4 separate regions of the Homo sapiens genome follow, and regions 2, 3 and 4 are each linked to region 1. Evidence: promoter capture Hi-C in 16 types of primary human blood cells and fetal thymus (Javierre and others, 2016). All regions are on one chromosome and are shown on one strand. Each heading gives the region's core, a stretch centred on a gene start or on the middle of the fragment in contact. The rest is flanking DNA. Distances are from core to core; before and after follow the strand shown.

The links. The method cuts DNA at HindIII sites, captures the fragments that hold promoters and counts their contacts. A CHiCAGO score of 5 or more calls a contact.
Region 2: a fragment that was not itself captured here is called in contact with the fragment with the promoter of LINC02304 in region 1 in 1 of 17 cell types (total CD4 T cells); the score reaches 7.0 in total CD4 T cells.
Region 3: a contact is called between a fragment that was not itself captured here and the fragment with the promoter of LINC02304 in region 1, in 2 of 17 cell types (activated CD4 T cells and total CD4 T cells). The highest score is 6.7, in activated CD4 T cells.
Region 4: a fragment that was not itself captured here is called in contact with the fragment with the promoter of LINC02304 in region 1 in 1 of 17 cell types (total CD4 T cells); the score reaches 6.0 in total CD4 T cells.

What each region holds. Positions count from the first base shown.
Region 1 is chr14:97,151,976-97,157,081 of GRCh38, reverse strand. It overlaps LINC02304 (long intergenic non-protein coding RNA 2304), which reads right to left and starts at 2,225. Exons shown (of 2, transcript NR_146554.1): 1 at 1,913-2,225. RefSeq lists an enhancer at 2,492-2,661. The HindIII fragment of the contact is 13,309 bases long and covers 1-5,106 here.
Region 2 is chr14:99,401,716-99,406,821 of GRCh38, reverse strand. SETD3 (SET domain containing 3, actin N3(tau)-histidine methyltransferase) reads left to right here. Exons shown (of 13, transcript NM_032233.3): 9 at 232-306; 10 at 1,451-1,617; 11 at 2,512-2,597. Among named protein-coding and RNA genes, the nearest start is that of SETD3, 77 kb to the left of the region's middle. The HindIII fragment of the contact is 735 bases long and covers 1,549-2,283 here.
Region 3 is chr14:99,304,418-99,309,523 of GRCh38, reverse strand. No RefSeq gene overlaps it. Among named protein-coding and RNA genes, the nearest start is that of BCL11B, 35 kb to the right of the region's middle. The HindIII fragment of the contact is 5,409 bases long and covers 1-5,106 here.
Region 4 is chr14:99,273,915-99,279,020 of GRCh38, reverse strand. No RefSeq gene overlaps it. Among named protein-coding and RNA genes, the nearest start is that of BCL11B, 4.3 kb to the right of the region's middle. RefSeq lists an enhancer at 3,964-4,013 and a silencer at 4,414-4,613. The HindIII fragment of the contact is 1,017 bases long and covers 2,480-3,496 here.

The DNA.
Region 1 (5,106 bases), core at 976-3,475:
GTAAATGGCACTCTAAAGACAAAAACCTTGGTGTCATCCTTGATGGATCTCACTCCCTTCCCCATGATTCACACACAATCACTCAGCGGAGTCTCCGGCTCTGCCTTGAACATACATTCAGAATTTGACACCCTTGCTATCACCTCTGCCACCACACTCAGTCACTGGGACCATTGAAGCCACACCCTACATAATGGTCCCGCCTGTCCCTTGCCTCGCAAACTGTTTTCATTTGGCAACCAGCTGATGTCATTTGCCTCCTTACAAACCTACTTTAGCTTCCCAGCTCAGGGTAAACACCAATTCATGACAGCAGCTCCTATGACCAAACGCAGTCTGCACCTCAACCTCTGACAGCAGCCCCCATCACTCTAGCCTTCTTTCCTCCTGCTCCAGCCACTCTGGCTTCTTGACTGTTCTTGAACACAGCAAGCAATCGCCTGCCTCGGGTCTTTGCACCTGCCCTTCCCTCTGCCTGGAATGACGTTTTCCCTTACTTCCTTCTGAACTCCATTCAACTATCACCTTATCAGAGAAGCCCCCAGTAAAATAACACCTCCAATCACTCATGCCACATTGGTGGTTCTCTTGTTTGGCTTTATTTTCCTCCACTGTCATATTATACACACTTGTCATAGTGTAAATGCATCCATTGCTTGTTAACAGTCTTCCCCCATGAGAATGGAACATCCATGAGGGCAGAAAAGTTGTCTGTTTGCTGCTATTTATGCAGTGCTTAGAACAGTGCCTGGCACAGAGCGGGGTATATGCTCCAGGAGTATGTGCTGAGAGGAAGAAAGGAAGGAGGGAGGAAGGGAGGGAGGAAGGGAGGGAAGAAGCAAAAAAGGAAGGAAGGAGGGGAGAAAGAAAAAGAAGGAAAGGAAGAAACAAAGGAGGGAGTGAGAGAGAGAGGAAAGAAAGGAGAGGGAGGGAGGGAGGGAAGGAGGAAGGAAGGAAGACACTGGACTCCTTGCTAGCCCACAAGCCCACCCTCCTCTTGCCTCCACATCTTGGTCTGATGCTGTTCTCTATGCCTGAAAGCTGCTCTCCCAGCCCTCTCTGCCTGCCGACGTCTTTCTTGTATTTGGAGACAAGCGTCAGCTCCTCCTGGTCTATCCCAGAAGGGAGTCTCTGCTCCCACCTCTCTCCTCCTCCAGCAGTTTGTTTTAGGCACCATCGTAGTCAGGGTCCCAGCAGGAAGCAGAATTTGCCACAGATGGTTCAAATGAAGAATCTTTAATGAAAAGACTCTTAACAGAGGTGAGCAGGGTTAAGAGGACAAAGATAGGATGGCAAGGGCTCAGAGACAGGAAGCATCAGGGAGTGGTTGTCACCCCTAGGACTGAAGGGACAAGAGCAGGAAACTGGAGGCAAACTGTACAGGAGGAGACATCAGGTAGGACCCAAGTTGTGAAGGATGCAGCTCTTGCAAAAGATGCAAAGATAGAAGGAGTGGGAAGAAAAACCTAACCTCCTTTCCCTTCTTGGAAGCCAGGTGGCCAGAAAGCCTGGGCATGAATGGGAGGCTACAGGGCCAAGGTTCAGGCAGCAAAAACAGCATGTGCAAAGGCCCTGTGGCAAGAGAGAGCTTTCAGGGGGTAGGAGGAACTAAAAAGAAACTCAGTGCTGCTGGCCAGCTGAGAGCTGGGGAGGAGACAAATGGGAGAAGGGGTGAAAAAAAGAGGCCGCAGGCGGACCATGTGGGCCTTAAGGATACAAGCCCCACCTCCTGGTTTTCCTGGGGCAGTCCTCAAGGACACCTGTTGTCCCAGAGGAGGCATTAGTAATAAGCTCCACCCCCTAAAGATCCCTGCCATCCCCCCAACACACACACACACACACACACACACACACACACACACACACACACACTTCACTCCCACAAATGGTCCTGATTTGAACAGTAACTTACCTGGCCAGCCTTTCCACAGGGTGTATTGAAGAGCTCTGTCTTCACTGTAAGAGTCGGGATCCCTGAGGGTTGCAGGCAGTGTGCTCATTGCTCGGATTTGCATTTGTAAAGGGTATTCGGGTAGCAATAAAGCAAATGAGTTTTAGGGGCCATGGCATCAGGCCTGATAAAGATGCTATGGAAGTCCTCCAGGGTACCCTCGGACCTGCCTTTTAACATTCATGAGCTTTGGGATAAAATCCAGATGCCTGGGCCAGCTTCCCCCTTCCCTGTGATCTGCCCCACTTCCTTCCAGCCCCACCTCCTGCCACCCGGGCAGCTAGGAGCCCATCCTGCTGCAACACAGGTGCTCATCCTGCATCACAGGCATCACAAGCGCTCATCCTGCTGCAACACAGGTGCTCATCCTGCATCACAGGCATCACAGGCGCCCATCCTGCTGCATCACAGGTGCTCATCCTGCATCACAGGCTTCACAGGCGCCCATCCTGCTGCATCACAGGCACCCATCCTGCTGCACTTCTCGCCACTCCCTCATGGCCCCAAATCCTTGCTGTGCCCAGGTCTCTGCAAAAGCTGTGCCCACACACTGCACCACTCTCCTCTCCTCTCCTCCCCATTGCAGGCAAGCTCCCATTCTTCAAGTGAGAATCTGCTGATACACGCAGGTATTCTGTTAAAGGATCTCGTCACATCATTCTGTTGATGTGACATTTTCCATCTCTCCCCTATTATACCATGAACCACACGAGGATAGAGGGCTTGTCTTTTCCATGACAATATTTAATGTATTTAGTCCAGTGTCAATAAATTAGTAGAAATGAGGGAAAGAAAAGAAAGGGGGAGGGAGAAAGGAATAATGGGAGGAGAGGAGGAAAGGAGAGAGGGAGAGAGGGAAGGAAGAAAGGAAGGAAGGAAGGAAGGAAGGAAGGAAGGAAGGAAGGAAGGAAGGAAGGAAGGAAGGAAAGAAGGAAGGAGGGAAGGAAGGAAGGAAGGAGGGAAGGAGGGAGAGAGTGAGGAAGGGAGGGAGGGAGGGAGGAAGAGAGGAACTCTCAGGTGACTCTAAGCTATTTGTGATTCATCTTTGTTTGCAACTTATCTGGAATCTTGAAGTGAACTTCGGGGACCTGTTAACTTCTTCTTACACAATGCTTTCTGTGATACTTCTTTCCCTTTGTTCTAATTTTTTCCAAATCTCTCAAACTTTCAACGTCCCACACTTCGAGTTACATCGAAGCCCACTCCACTGCAAAAACTTCAACTTGTGATCTTGTTGTCTCAAACATCCTAAGGTTGTATAATAACCAAATGTCTTTGTTCTCACGATGAGAGTATGCATCAAGAATCAAAGAAGCAAGAGGAAAAGGAACGTTCCAGGCTATTACTGTAACAATCCAATTACAATGCCTATCAAACTTAACTTCACAGGTTATAGCTCCTAATTGCCTGACAAAAATTGACACTTCAGTCGCAACAGCATAATATAATCAGAGTCCAAATTAAATTTGATCGTGGGCAGAAAACGATGCTATCATTTGAAGGCATGGAAACAGGAGATCAACTAGCATGATACCAGGGATCAGAAATGAAAATTATTCATTAATGGCAATGCGTTTCTGATAATGGAAATGACACAGTTCAGACGGCTTCGTAAAAACACTATTAATTAAAAAGATGATAGACCTAACAAGCCGTAGAAACCAGAGGACTTTTTTTGGGGTGTGCTTGTTAAGGTGAAAGACGACAATGTGTAAGAACAGAAGTTGATGCACTTTCGTTGGAAGTGTTTCGCTGACGCATGAGCCAAGTTTACTGGCCATTGCTTTGTGAAGTGACATTCTCCAGGGGGCCATGTTCCAGGACTATAAGAAATAAAAAAAAATAAAAAGAGTCTTTGGCCATAATACAGCTCTGCAGTAAGTGCAAATGGTGCTGGCTGTAAAATAGAAGGGCCCAATTCATAAAACAAAAGGCTCAAGGGAGTTTGGGGTACAGTAAAAGAAAAATAGGCCTGGACAACTCTTGAAAGGGTGTGTGTACGTGTGTGTGTTGTTTTCCACCTTGCAAGTTCTGTGTGATTTGTCCCAGAGGGTGGCATTAGTGATAAGCTCCACCCCCCAGACCTCCCTGCCCTCCCCCCAACACACACACACACACACACACACACACACACACACATACACTTCACTCTCACAAATGGTCCTGATCTGAACAGTAACTTACCTGGCCAGTCTTTCCACAATCCCTAATTTAGGGGATTGAAATACACAAAACGACAGGCAAATCTCAGAGCCCATCAGGGTTTGGGTACAGAAATTTAAAGTTCCTTTTTTTTGTTTGTTTAAAACACATCATAAGAAAATAATATCCTTTGAGAATGAGTTATGTGTTCATGTTTTGAGCTGTCTACTCATTCAAACAATATTTTTTGAGTGCCTTTGATATATTAAGCCTCATCTTATGATCAGGGGGGAATTGCACTGAACCAGACAGACACTGTTTCCTTCCTTAGTCTGGCCAAAAAATGGGTGTTGGCCAAGTGCTTAGCCTTGAAGAAGAATTACAGAGAGCGAGACCAGAAGTACTAACTGTGTAGAGGCCAAGAGGGCTTCTTGGAAGAAGTGACATTGAAGGTGAGACCTGAAGTGGAAGATTGGTGAACGATAAGGGGATGAGAGTGAGGGAAGAGTCACAGCTTAGGAAATGACATATTGGCACCTCCAGTTATAACTGTGGGCACAGCAAGGCTATGAGGCTTCCCAAAATACTAACAAATACTACTATTGCATTCATCGAAGGAAACGGTTCAACTTAACTTGATGCTGTAATTAGCTTTTAACAGGGTGAAGGGTCTCCGTTATGGGATTCTTGCATTAAAGGCATGAGACGCAGAAGACAAGAGAGGACAATGCTTTCCCCCACCCTGTTAGATTCAGGTGCAGCCGTGTGACTGACTGTGTTGATCACACGTGGGCAGGATGGCTGTAGGCCGCTTACAAACAGAATCCTTGAGAGTCATCTCACAGCTCCACTGAGTTCTCTTTTCCTTCCCTCCTAAGGACTGGTGAAGTCCCAGGCTGGGTCCCCTCCCTCAACCTGAACCCCATGGTGAAAATGATGCAGCACCCCCTACCAGGGAGGGGTAGCACAGGCAAGAAATGTGTCCTTATCTAGGTCAGCCACTGTGGCTTTGG
Region 2 (5,106 bases), core at 667-3,166, 2.3 Mb before region 1:
TGTGCTTCCTTTATTTCAGGTATGTAATTTTCCATAATCATCTCTGATATAACTAGAGTTAACCTCAGTGCTCAAGCAGTTCTTTGCCCCATTTTCCAAAGCATTCAGATGCCACCTTTTGAGTACCTTGGGATCCCCTTTTTCCTCTGATTGCCAGAAACAAGCTTGTAGATTAAGTGAGATGTGCGTGTGTTTGCCTCACCATCATTTCCTTCCTCCTCCCCGGGCTAGATCACTACTGGTTACAACCTGGAAGATGACCGCTGTGAGTGTGTGGCTCTGCAGGATTTTCGGGCTGGAGAGCAGGTGGGTCTCGTGGCATCTCACAAAATGTGAGCCAGCCAGTGGGCACTAACGTTAACACCGTGTTGGTAATCTTAAAAAGGAACTTAACTTAGGGGAAAAAATGTGGAATTCACATTGAGGATTGTTTTTCTGGAACACATCTTGAGACCAGAACCCGTAGTACACATATTCACTTGTGCTTTACTCACTTGTGCTTTGCATTGTGCTTTGGGTCCACAGAGAAAAAGATTTAAACACAGTTAGTTGCACAATTGGCCTAATATTTGTAAATATTTGTAACACTCTTAACTGAAAATAAAGTGTGTTATGACACTAAACAATGTTTAACATTTCATAAACTGTTGCCTTTATTTTTTCTACTGATTAGAACTTTATAAGAGTATTTAAGGGGCAAAAGCAAGGGAATCTGTTGTCTTATACTTTCATTTTAATCTCTGATTTTTTAATCTAGTAGTTTGGGTGGGAGGAGGGGTAAGCCTTTGGGTGAGTTTGAAAATACGTGTCTATAAATTCCTACATTCTATCAGTCTACACCCAAGCAGACAGTACAGTCATGGAACTCACATCCATAATTGACATTCCAGTTGAGACAAAATGAAAAATACTTGCCTAGCAAAGTACTGATCTGTTCCTTCTTCAGAAAAGTTTATAAACCCACCTGCCAGGTGCAGGATTAATTGCCAGAGGATCTAGAAATAAGTTTCTGACAGATACTGCTTTACAGTTCCAGAAGAGACCCTGCTGTATTAAAAGGACAGGAAGAACTTGGTGAATTTTAAAATACAGTCTTATAGTAATAGCCTTGCTGTCCTTTGGAAGGAGAAGAGGTTTATAATAGAGGCCTGGTGACCCCAGGTCACCTGGGGTCCTTTGAGTACTAGTAAGGCCTTTGGTGGTACTTTCTCCTGGCCTCCCCTCTCCTCTCCACACGGTGGTGGAAGTGGGTGCTTGGTCTCAGACAGTTTGGAAAGTTGGGAAAATTGCACAGCTTCACCCTTGCAACCTATACCAAACAGGTGTATCAATACTTTCAGCTATTTAGTGTCTAAATGTAAAGTAGCACTAAGCCTCTGCCCTGCCCTGTGTTAAGAATACATGCCAAGTTTGTCTAATGCCCTTTTCTTTTTTCTTTACTGCATCTCAGATTTACATTTTTTATGGCACTCGATCCAACGCAGAGTTTGTGATCCACAGTGGTTTTTTCTTTGACAATAACTCACACGACAGAGTGAAAATAAAGCTTGGAGTGAGTAAAAGTGACAGACTCTACGCCATGAAGGCCGAGGTCTTGGCTCGTGCCGGCATCCCCACGTACGTAGAAAAACATCGGTTGGCCCTTTCTTGCAGTACTTGAACTATTTCCAGTTGCATAGTGTTTAATTGGTGTGTTAATAAAACTTCTCTCCAGTAGTTTGTCTTAATCCGTTTATCCCCGTGGCACAGCAAATTTAAGCCATGGCGACGCTTGGTGGCTTACCAGCGTTTTCAGGTAAACATAATTGTGTCGTTGGGCGCATTCACAGTCAGTTCTGGGGGATATGGCCTGAAATCCTCATTAAGTTAAATAACTACTTTCGTATCATTCATGTCTTTCACCTTGAAAAGGTTAATGGCCTGGATCAATTTGTTTCATTTAATTCGTTGCTACCATTAGTTTCTGTAATGAAGTCATGATCCTCAGTGATTTCAAGAATTTCTAGTTAAGTTCTTTAAGATTTTCTTGCATTTGAGGCATAAAATGATAAAGAAGACAGGAATTAGGATTCATTAGTTCTCCAGGGAATAGAGGAACCATTCTTAATGAAAATGGATTATGCAGACCTTTTTTTTATTGAACTTGTCAATATTTGATTAATGATTAAAGTGTGAACTCAACATAAATTATTGTTAACACTTTTTAAAAACCATGTGTATGTTTAATTTTTGAATGTATTATGTGCAACCTGAGATTACAGCTGTTAGGCTCTAGGAAAAGCTTGTGAGGATGGTCTCCAATTCTGGATGTCCGCTTGCCTCCGCCCCAGCCTGCGGCCTTTTGCAGGGGCTGAAAATCGTGCTCACAGTTGAGATGAGGAGCTGGAATGACCCATTCCAGCTCAGCTCTCCTTGAGGACAACCACACGTGCTGTAGACTTAAGGAATCTCAGTTTGGAGCAAGTGGGTAACCGCAGCAGGGTGACTGATCTTGCTTTCTGCTTTTATCAGTTCCAGTGTTTTTGCATTGCATTTTACCGAGCCGCCCATCTCTGCTCAGCTTTTGGCTTTTCTCCGAGTATTCTGTATGACTGAAGGTAAGTCATTTCAGGAAAAAAGAGATGTTGACTTTTTTCTTTTTAAATCATGAAAGTGTAAAGCATAGGGATTCAGATTAAAGGTAAAGTGGATTAAAACTACAGTACTTTTGGGAAGAGAGAAGATACAATACTGGAGAAAGAAGAAATAGATTTGTTTTACCCTAGAAATGTTTTATTAAATCCTCGATGTGTTGTCAGTATTAATTTGTAATACGCAAATAATTCTCAACTGCATTTGAAGAAAACTTAAAACATCTTGGATAGGGTAAATATATCAAAATTCTACATTTGTAGCCTGACAGAGCCTCATTTCACTCACGGGGCACTAGTCTTTTTCACTTACATAGAGCAGTTCAGGATCAGTTGATGCTGTGATGTTGTGTAGTCAGCTGTGGCATACGTGGACCGTAGGACTTTATTTGTTAACCTACTCTGCATTCTAAATCTGAAATTGCCAGCAAGCATTTTAATGCCAAGCATCCTGTTAGAGTAAATAACATTGCAAACAGAATCTGTGTAGAACACAAAATGTTCCTGGCTACAGCCTCTTATTTCATGCCCAGAAAGAGTTAAGTATTTGTATTGAGCATCTACTTTTATATTAGCTTAAAACAAGTCATTTGGGGTTTCTTATGCTGAGATTTGACCTCTCGTGGTTGTGTTTTTATTTTTCATCCTAAAATGTATCTTACAAATTTCCTGGCCCTGAGGTTTCATTTTTAAGAGAGAGAAAGAGAGAGAGAGAGAGAGAGAGAGAGAGAGAGAGTGTGTGTGTGTGTGTGTGTGTGTGTATGTTTTGCTGTTGTTAACTACCTTAAATCCTGTACAGAACAGTCTGAGTAGGAATGAGTAAATGAGTGTTTGAGTGAGTGAACAGACGAACAAGTGTTCTGGAAGGAAGCTGCCCAAGCACTTCCTTGGTCGGAGGAAGCAGTCATGGCCCATGTGGGGGAAGCTGCTGTGCTCGGCGGTCACTGGCTTTGGTTTTAATGTCTGGATCCAGGGAGCAGTGCAGCACAAGTCCAGGGTTTGACGTCATGCTGGAGGCAGAAAAAACCTAGTCCCGAAACAGGAGAGGCAGTTCACACACCAACCGCAGAACCCAAACTGAGATACAGTCATTGTTCCTCATAAGCAACCCTGTCGCTAGATTTACGGTTATTCAAGTGGGAGCTTTTGGTGCTTTTTGTACTTGGGTAATGGTTCATCAATTCAATGTAATGAACACGAGTTAAGGGGTTAACTGTGAGCTTTTCTTGCATATATATGGATACAGAATTGAATGTTGCAGTTCATGTACTCAAGGCATTTATAATTAAGAGAGGTGATGGTGATGATATTCCTTGAATTTGTGAAGCATTCACTGTGCGCCAGGCATGATGCTACATTTGGTACATGCTCAGTTTTAATCCCATCAGCCTTGATTGGGAAGTGCTCCCATTTTACTGATGTAGATTCCACTTCAAAGAGGGTAAGTATTAGCTGGGCGTGGTAGCACGTGCCTCTAGTCCCAGCTACTCGGGAGGCTGAGGTAGGAGGATTGTTTGAGCCTGGGAGGTGAAGGCTACAGTAAGCCAACCCCAGCCTGGGTGACAGAGTGAGACCCAGGTGGGTGGGGAGTGGGGGAAGAGTATAAAGTTGGCTGGATGCTGTGGCTCATGCCTGTAATCCCAGCACTTTGGGAAGTTGGAGGATTGATTGAGCCTGGGAGGTTGAGGCTGCAGTGAGCCGTGATCTTGCTACTGCACCCTAGCCTGGCCAACAGAGCAAGACCCTGTCTAAAACAAACAAACAAACGAACAAACTAACAAAAAACCCAAAGAGGATAAGTAACTTGGCCGAGGTTGCTCAGTAAGCAAGTGATGACCCTGACTTAGAACCCACCTCTGTTAACTCCAGAGCCCACGTGCAGGACATCCCACATTGCTCCTGCTGGTTCACAGATAACATAGTACATGGAAAAAAGTCTTAGTGCTCTAGGGGTCTGGAGGAAATGGCATTCAAGTTAAACTGTGGAGCTCAGCGACTGTTTGGACAAGGTAGAGCAGGAGGGGAGGGGTATGACTGAAGACCTTTAGCATAGGGAGGAGCTTGAGCAGGAGCTAGGGAGAGAGGGTGGAGGGCACTGGGCTCTGTACCCTCCGGGGTGAGCACACACTGTGGTGGCCAGAATGAGGTGCAGGGATAATTTGCAGGCCCTGTTTGCTGGAGGAAAGCTCAGGAGGGCACCTGCTGCAGGAGCTCCTGGCCTGCAGGCAGGCCACATGCTACATTGTCTTACTCCCCTTTTTGTAGGCTTTATTTCTCCAGAAATGTGAAATGAGTCCAGTTTCACTTTTAAAAAGTAGCGGAGAGAAAGCTCTGCCGCACACCTGCAGCTTCCATCATTGCAGAGTGCAACTTGGGCAGATTGAGGAAGGAGATGAGGGAAGGAAACAGTAACCTTCATACTGGGGGCCTTTGAAAAGAACTTTCAGCCACTAAGAAAGCTTAAAAAAACAGAACG
Region 3 (5,106 bases), core at 1,409-3,908, 2.2 Mb before region 1:
GAGCAGGAGCGAGCGAGAGACAGAGAGAGTTGGAGGGGCAGGGTGCCACACACTTTTAAATGACCAGATCTTGTGAGAACTCACTATCATGAAGACAGCATCTCAAGCCATGAGGGATCCACCCCCATGATCTAAACATCTCCCACCAGGCCCCACCTCCAGCAGTGGGAATTACAATTCAGCAGGAGATTTGGGCTGGGACAAATATCCAAACTATATCAGACTTTGACTCTCAACTTGCCCAACAAAATCTGGAAATAGAGGGACAAGTGGTTGAGGAAGGTGGGTAGGGGACCAACTGCTTATGAATGTTAATAACAAAGGCTACCATGCATTGAGCATCGACTATACACTAGATGCTATGCAATGAAATTTATATGCATTATCTCATTTAATCTTTACAGCATCTTTGTGAAGTAGGCAGTAGAGACCTGAAGCAGATCATTTTAAACACTTCCCCTCCTCAATATGACAAAATTATTTTCAGTATCAGTAATTATTATTTTCTTCATTTTTTAGCTCTAAAACAATTTAAAAAATAAATTTAATGTTAAATATATTTAAATTTAGTAAATTTTTAAATTTATGAATGAAAATTTGCACTTATCAAACAAAATACTACACCTCTCAGCTTGCAAACTTGAATGATTTCCAGCCACTATAAAATTGCCATCTAAATAAACACTGTAATTGAGCTAATGTATTTTGGATGCAAATCACTTAACTAGAAGTTCTTTATATTAACTTCCATGTAAGATACAATATTTAATAAAGGATAAGTAATAAAAATGTGCTAATTTGAAACTTGCATACATATTAGTAAAATTCAACTGTAATAACAGTAATTATGTAGTACTTAAATAAACAAAAATTTTTTTTCCTAGAGAAATATCTTATCACTGGCATTATTTAGAATTGCCAATGCATGATATTAATAAAAAGCAGATCCACTTTTAGTTAGTTTTATTATTGTTTTAAAATTATCTATAGACAACTTCCTGCACACAGGGTACACTACTCTCACAAGCCCACTCTCAATATGCCACTGATTAAAATACTTCCTTTGAAAATTTTCATCTTGGTCAGCACTCTCACTTTAGAATTTCGTTTATTATGTGTTGGCAATTCATTCAAAACTATCAACTTAGTATCTATCTATCCATCTAAAATGTATGTATACACTTTTGCTCTCTCTCTCTGCTGTGGTTTGAATATTTGTCCCCTCCGAAACTAATATTGAAACTTAATCCCCAATGTGACAATATTGAGAGGTGGGGCCTTTAAAAGATGATTGGGTCATGAGGGGCTCTGCTCTCATGAACTGATTTGTCCATCCATGAATTAATGAATGGGTTAGCATGGGAATGGGACTGGTGGCTTCATAAAAGAGGAGGAGAGGCTGGGTACGGTGGCTCATATCTATAATCTCAGCACTTTTGGAGGCTGAGGCGGGCATATCACTTGGGGCCAGGAGTTCAAAACCAGCCTGGCCAACATAGTGAAACCACATCTCTACTAAAAATACAAAAACTAGCTGGGCGTGGTGGTATGCACCTGTAGTCCCAGCTATGTGGGAGGCTGAAGCATGAGAATCGCTTGAACCCAAGAGGTGGAGGTTGTGGTAAGCTGAAATGGCACTGCTGCACTCCAGCCTGGGTTACAGAGCAAGACCCTGTCTCAAAAAAAAAAAGAAAGAAAAAAAAAAAAAAAGGAGGGGAAGAGAGACCTGAGCTCGCATGCTCAGCCCCTCTCCATGCGATGTTTGTGCCACCTTGGAACTCTGCAGAAAGTCTGCACCAGCAAGAAGGCCCTCACCAGATACAGCCCGTTGTTCTTGGACTTCCCAGCCTCCATAATTATTAAGAAATAAATTCATTTTCTTTATAAATTATCCAGTTTTAGATGTTCTGTTATAAGCAACAGAAAATGGACTAAGACACACTCTCTTAAATGTATAATAAATAGACTATTTAATATCATGTTATAAAAAATTATATATTTTTATAATTTATATCTTATATATAAAAAATTTCCCTTAAAGTGATTTGAAGAGATTTTAATAATTAGTATATACACAGAGAGTTATCTTATTAAAGAATGCTATGTGGCATTTTATATTGTGGATGCACCATAATTTTTAAAGTAATTTAAAAAATTGAAGTGTAACGAACATAGAAGAACATACACAATCCATACCATACAACTTAATGAGTTTCTTGAAAGCCAGTCCACTTGTGTAACCACCACATATATTAATAAATAGAAAATTATTGGCATCCCAGAAGCTCCCTCATAGCCCCATCTAGTCATTGCTGTCCCTCAGATGTTACCTCTTTCCTGATTTCTATCACCATGACCTATTTTGCTTGTTTTTTTTTTTTTTTTTTTGAGACAGAGTCTTGCTCTGTCACCCAGGATGAAATGCAGTACAATCATGGCTCACTGCAGCCTTGATTTCCCAGGCTCAAGTGATCCTCCCACCTCAGTTGGGACTACAGGCATGCACCACCATGCCGGCTAATTTTTTTATATTTCGTCTTGCCATGTTGCTCAGGCTGGTCTCAAACTCCTGGGCTCAAGTGATCCTCTTGCTTTGGCCTCCCAAAGTGCTGGGATTACAGGTGTGAGCCCCTGCACCCAGCCTAGTTTTCTTGTTTTTGAGCTTTGTGTAAATGAGCAGATAGTATGTAGGTATTTGTATCTGGCTTCATGAACTTTATCCGTGTTGTTGCATGTAGCAGTGGTCACGTTTTCTCACTGATCTATAGCATTCCATTGTATGACCATGCCATGATTTATGTACCCATTCTATTATTCATAGACATTTGAGTTGTTTCTAGTTTGGGGCTATAATAAATAACACAGTTATGAACAATCTTCAACATATCTTCTGGTACCAGTATGTTCACATTTCTGCTGAGGAGCAAATTATAGGGGATGCATATATTCAGTTGTAGTCAACATTCTTGCCTTGATCCGAACCTTAGAAGAAAAGCACACAGTCTTTTGACATTAAGTATGACGCTAGCTATGGTTTTCTCTAGATACCCTCTATCAGGATGGGGAAGTTCCCTTCTATTCATAGTTTGCTGAGTTTTTAATCATGAATAAGTGTTGAATATTTCAATACTTTTTCTGCATTTACTGAGATGATCATATAGTTTGACTCCTTTATTCTGTGAAGATAGTGAACTATATTGATTGATTTTTAAATCTGAAACCAACTTTTCATTTCTGGGACAAACCCTATTTGGTTATGATGTATTATCATTTGTATGTATTGCTAGATTCAGTTTGCTAATGTGTATTTACTTATTTATTTCTGAGATGGGATCTTGCTCAGTTGCCTAACCTGAAGTGCAGTGGTGCTATCTCAGCTGACCGCAACCTCTGCCTCCTGGGCTCAAGTGATCCTCCCACCTCAGCCTCTTGAGTAGCTGGGACAACAGGCGTGTGTCACCACGCTCAGCTAATTTGTGTGTGTGTGTGTGTGTGTGTGTGTTTGTGTGTATATATATATATATATTTTTTTTTTTTTTTGGTAGAGATGGGATTTCACCATTTTGCTCAGGCTGACCTCAAACTCCTAGGCTCAAGTGATCGGCCCACTTTGGCCTCCCAAAGTGGCTAATATTTATCTAGGATTTTGTGTAGTTTTCTAAGGCATTTGGTTTATAGTTTCTTTTTCCTGTAATGTCTTTGATTTTGGTATTAAGGCCTCACAAAATGAGTTAGAAAGTATTTCTTCCTTCTGTACTTCCTGAAAAAATTTGTGTAGGACTGGTACTATCTACTTCTTAAATGTTTAATAGAAATCACCAGTGAAGTTGTATTTACCTGGGCATCGTTTTTTTGGGGAAGAGTTTTTAAATCACAAATTCAATTCCTTTAATAGTTATTAGGGCCAGGCATGGTGGCTGATGCCTACAATCCCAGCACTTTGAGCAGCTGAGGCAGGAGGATCGCCTGAGCTCAGGAGTTTGAGACCAGGCTGGGCAACATGGTTAGACCCCGTCTCTACAAAGAACAAACAAACAAACAAACAAAAATTAGCCAGGTGTGGCGGCATGCTCCTGTAGTCCCAGCTACTTGGGAGGCTGAGATGGGAGGATTGATTGAGTCCAGAAGGTCAAGGCTGAGGTGAGCTGTGATCATGTCACTTTGAGTTAGTTTGGTAATTATGTTATTATGGAATGAATGTTTATGTCTCCCTGTATTAGTCTGTTTCCACACGGCTATAAAGAATACCTGAGACTGGGTAATTTATAAAGAAAGGAGGTTTAATTGGCTCACAGTTCTGCATGGGGAGGCTTCAGGAAACTTACTTTCATGGCAGAAAGTGGGGGAGAAGCAAGCACATTCTTATATGGCTGCAGGAGAGAGAGAGAGAAAAAAAAAGGGGTGGGGGGAACTGCCAAGCATTTTTAAACCATAAGATCTGGTGAAAACTCATTGTCACGAGAACAGCATGGGGGAAACTGCCCCCATGATCCAATCAACTCCCAGCAGGTCCCTCCCTTGACATGTGGGTATTACAAATCAAGATGAGATTTGGGTGGGGACACAGAGCCAAACCATATCACCCCCTAAATTCATATGTTGAAGCCTTAACCCCAGTGGAGCTTTGGGAGGCAATTAGGTTTAAATAAGGTATGAAGGTGGGGTCCTCAGGATGGGATTAGTGTCCTGATATGAAGAGGAAGAGAGACCAGAGTGTGCATGCTCTCTCTCTCTCTCTCCAACATATCAGGACACATGGAGAAGTTAGCTGTCTGCAAGCAAGGAAGAGATCTCTTACCAGGAATTGCATCTACTGGCATCTTGATCTTGGAATTCCCATCTTCCAGAGCTGTGAGAAATAATGTCTGTTGTTTAAGCCACCCTGTCTATGGTATTTGGATATAGGAGCCTGAGCTAACATGTCTTTCAAAAAGTTTGTGTATTTCACCTAACTTGTTGAATTTATTGGCATAAAGTTATTTATAGTATTTTGGTAGGCATTTTATGTCTATTTTTGTGAGGGATATTGATGCATGGAGTCAGATTATAAAGGCTCATGGGAGTTGATGTGAATATCCCTTTCTAACTCTGCACTCAGTGACGTCA
Region 4 (5,106 bases), core at 1,739-4,238, 2.1 Mb before region 1:
CTTTCCAACTTGCCTCTTGGTTGGGTGCATTTAGGTACCCGGAGCTAATTAAGGTGTTTGATAGATTTCAATTGGAGTATGAGTTCTTGCCAGAAACATCAACAATTCGATTCCCCAAGCACAATGCAGAGCGTTAAATCCACTAATGCTTTATACATTACTGTGTTCCTTCCCAGCCGGAATGTGTGGTCTGGGTACAATACCAAACCGGTCCCCAAACAGGCGTCCTCACTCTTCAGTCTCTAATTGTTCCTGTTAAGCAGATACAAATAATGAAACTGCAGATGCCTGTGCTGAATCCCAACAGCTGATGAATCTACCCATTTGAATCCAGAGGTCCAAATACAGATTTAAAATAATTGACCATAAATCTGCCTTATTTAGAATCCAGATCATCAGAGTGGTCAGAGATGATCTTTTTTGCTCCTGTCTAGTGTTAATTTCATGATACGTGTGTGTGTGTGTGTGTGTGATGGGGCCGGCGGGGTGGGTAGAAGCGGGGGAGAAAGAGAGAGAGAGAGAGAGGCAGGCAGAGGGGCTTTGTCACAAGTTCAAATGGGAAATGTTATTGCCACATCCATATTATAGAAGCTATTCTTGTTTCAGTGATTCCAAAGGCTTGAAATCACAGTGAAATCATTTTTATAAAAGGATCCAGATTAAACTAATACCAGAATGCACAGCAATCCAGTGTCTCGGTTTTCCCTGGGCAGCATTAATTATCTTTTGTTGTAGCAAATTGTCTGCCTTGTAAATTAAGCTGAAAGTGCATCTTCAAGCAGAGGCAATGTTTTAATATGTACATAATGGAACAACTTTCATAACTTCCACATACTATAGAAATATGATTTCATTTTCAATAATGTGCCTGCAGTTAAAACTTTGTGGTGTAGAGCCTCGTTTGTCAGCTTGCAACCTTAACCCTTCTCTATTAAATAGAGAGAAACCACTTACGTGTTTTCCAGGATACAAACTACCTTTGTTGAATTCACTCGAAAGCATCCGTGGCTGTTTCTAAAACTACAAAACAACAGATGAGCTCCCCCAGAGCTCTCTTTCCTAGCTCTGGAAGGCATATCTGAAACAAGGTGTTGGCTGGTTTTTATTTTTATTTTTTGGTAAGCGCCCCCATTGCAGCATCCTCATTAGCCGAGCCTGTTGGAGGGATGCTAGCCTGACTCATGTCTCTCTCTCCTTCTCTGTTCTTCCATAAGTGAGTGCTTGCTTCCCCCTCACTTCCTTTGTAGTGCATCACAGCACAGATAGGAGTTTTCAAAGCCTGGGATTGGGGGTGGGGGAGACCTCTCTACTGAGTCAGATGTCTACAACTCCAGCTTAGCATTTACTGAAACTTCATCTTTCTCAAACTGCTTAAGGATACAAACTAATTAATCCTCACAGCCTCATAAAACCCTTGTTAGGAAGGTGATCATTACTGCCTCCATCCCTAGTCCTCCCCATTTCCTATCACCAGACACCTCATTGTTGCTCGGTCTCAATGACAGCAGCTGACAGCCAGAGTCGGAACTGAAAATTCCTTTCTGAGTCCCTCATTTGAACCACTTTAACTCTCTTTATTTTCCTTGTCTGTTCTCTACAAAGGGCAGATGGATGGTCAATAGACCACTGAATTCAAACTCACGGATATGTGTGTGTCTTCAAAACAGAGCTCTCAGCATCTTCAGGAAAACGGTCTTCCTTGCAGTTTCAGTTACACAATTTGGAGACTCAGTGACAAAAGAGAAAGCAGCAGAGAGACCCTTTTGCATAACACACACACACACACACACACACACACACAAACACACACGTGCACTCACACCACAGCCGCTCGGATCTCTGTATATGTGAGGGGTGGGGGTGGAATTTGGTGCAGTCTGATCATCTTCATGAACGATATTTCTCCCAAGTCGACCAACTGGGTGATGCCAGTCCCTACCAAATTTGAATTGATGACTCAACTAAAGAATTAAAATTAGCAAGACAAGAAAATTCCAAATGAGGTGAGAAAGCTGTAGAAATAGTTCCAGATCCCCTAGTACTGAGCCATTCAATATCATTTCTGATGACAGGGACAGAGCTAGGAACATTCAATGTGGGTGTGAGTCCTTTTCATATACGGGGAGCTGGGTAAGTATTTTTTAAGGAAAATAATACATGAATCAGGAACAGTGAATTTTATTTAACCCCTTGCAGGCTGCAGATACAAAGGCAGCCGGCAATGATGCCTCAGTTTTCCTACAGCTTACCTATGCCTTATACAGTTAAGCAATGGTCAGAAATGTACTACTGTATCAAGGCCAGGTATTACTTGCAGAAAAAAATAAGGTGCCAATGATGTCATGTTTTAACAAAAGCAATGTTGTTAAATTCAGTACACCAAAAGAATCAACCAAACAACTGTTGAAAGGCAAGTTTTGTGGTCCTGACTCTGCTATCAGGTGACAACGTGAAAAACTCCTCTAAATCCAGCAAAGCTTTAATTGAGTGCTTATGGCTCCCAGAAATTTGCTGTAATTTTCAGAAATGACATAAAATAATTCTAGAAGATACAGCAGGAAGCCCAAAAGGCCTCTTTTGTCTTTTTATGCCTCTGGATTTGATAGCTGCTAAAGATTCTAGAACTGTAAGGAAAGAGATAAGGACCACCTTGGGAGCCTTATTAATATGTACATAAATATGATTTGCTTGGTGCCTCCACTGTGGTTTCCTCACAAGTTAGAATAAGTCCATCCACTGATCAGATCGGAACATCGTATTCATGTTCATCTTCTCAGTCAATAACACTTATAGATCCGGAGGAATAGAAATGAACAGACAGGGGTTGCTTCTGAGTCTGCCCTATACCTGTGAATATGAAACGATTTGCCCTCTCTTTGCATGGTTTTCTTCTTCTTCTTCTTCTTCTTCTTTGTTTTAAAGCACCAAAAATGAAGCCCAAAGTAATTTGGTAAGATGTGCTGTTGAATTGCTACAAAGTTGACTGCGTTTCAGAGGGTGGATCTGTGTTAAAAAGAAAACAACAAAAACAAATGAAATGTCAGTTTTCTTTCTGCAGAAACATTAGGACTTCCCATTTCTACTGACACGTCTTATCTTGATTCTTTCCAAATTTTTGTAAAGACATAAGAGATAAAATATAACAGCTCAGAAGGCAAAGATAACATTGTAGGATCTCGAATAGAGTCCAACCTCAGCTGAGTTAAGTATTGAGAATCGTTCAAAGAATTTTAAACAAAAAGCCTGGCTTGGGGGTCACGTGTCTGTTTAATCTGCCCCCACTGCATGGTGTGTTACACGCAGCACACACAGGGAATTAAAGCCCCACATAAGGTTAATAAAAATGCACTCTGATTTGATGAAATGATTTCTGATTTCTGAACTATTCCTCTATAAAGAAATTTAAAGTGACTGAGAATATGGAGGATTATCTGCTGGAATGCACTGTGAAGCTAGAAAAAGAATAGCAGGGAAATATTTGTGAGTTCAAAAAGCTTTTTGACATCTGCTCTGTGTGTGTGTGTGTGTGTGTGTGTGTGTGTGTGTAAAGATAGTGCAGAAAAGGTGGCATTTATTTCCATGTGATTCCAGCATGCACAAAGCCCCAGCTTTGGGCCCAGCACACAGTAGGTCTGCAGCAGGTGCTAGAGAAATGAACCTGGTTTTAAGATATTAGTTCAGGACCACATTTGGACCCACACTTTTTCCTTTTACATTTTCATATGTGAGCCACCTGCACCCTCTTTTTTGGGGGTGGGGAGGGGGCAGGAGTGACTTGTATTTTAAACAAAGGTTTGGTGAAGAAGAGGTGGGGTGGGGTGCGGTGGGGCGGTGCAGTGACCTTCTCAGGAGAGTCCTGAAGCCCCCTCTCGCCTGCCTGGGGTGCTGAGGCAGGGGTGGGTACATGGCTGTGGGCCGAGGTCGACCACCCCCCTCCCGCCCCGCCTGCTGTCTGGGCATCTAGAGAGTGGGGAAACATTAGTACGGGGCCAGCTGCGGAAGCCTGGCAGGGTCGAGGGAGAGGTCAAGGTCGGCCGAGAGGCGGCTATTGATCCGGCTTGGAACGTGAGACATGGAGCGCAGCAAGACTAAAGGGGGAGCTGTGAGACCAGACATTAACAGCTTTGCGCGCTGATGAGGCCCGTGCCAGACGGGCAGAGGGAAAAAGAGGAGACTGGAGTGGCAGCTGGGATCGCTCCCTGCCTGCGCCCGGCCGCCTCTCGGGAGAAGAGGAGGAGGAGGAGGAGGGGAAGGAGGGGGAGAAGGAGGAGGAGGGGGAGGAAGATGCGGAGGAAAAGGGGGAGGAGGAGGGCGAAGGGGCCGGCTCAAGGCTGGGCAGGGGCAGAGCAGCCTCTCCCCGGCTGCCGCGAGGTGGAGCGCGCCGGCGGGCGGCGGCGTGTCCGGCCCTGCGTCCGCCCGCCCGCGCGTCCCTCTTCCCGCCGTCGGGGCAGCGCGGGGCCAATGAGGAAGTGCTCCTCGGGTCCGTGGGGCACGCGCCGGCCCACGCCAGCTACTTCCTGCTGGGAGTGGGGAGGGGGTGCCCCCTCCCCAGGCACGGCCCCTTACCGCACGCGGGGTGGCGGCTGCAGCTGGGACTCCGAGAGCCCTTGCGCCGCTCGCGGAGGGGCTCCCTTTTCCTGAGGGGTCCTCCCCGTCCCGCCTTGCCACTGGCGGGGTCTGCCTTCCTTGTAATCAACCCCAGGAAGGTGAGGGTCGTGGGTCGGGATTTCGAGTCCCGGACCGCCGGCGGCGCTGGGCTGCAGGCACGCCGCGGTGTTTTGGGTCCAGACCTGTCCCTGACGCGCTGTGTGTCCTAGGGCAAAGTGCTCACCCTCTCTGGGCTTCACATCGCTAGTTCTCAGAAAGAGAGCGCGAGTTGATCTTTCAAATTTAGAGTCCGGGCGAGTAGGGATGGCCAGTTTATGAATGTCTTAAAGAAGTTTATTAAAGGTGCGTGTGGGCATATTTTTTTTAAGCCACTTTCCTGGAAAGATTTTCCCGGTGAGAGGGATGGCAGAAGAGGGAGGCCCTACTAGACTTTGGACCACGTGGAGGTGGGGTGTTGGGGGTGGGCAGCCGGGTGCAGCCTGCCCGGCCAGGGCGAGG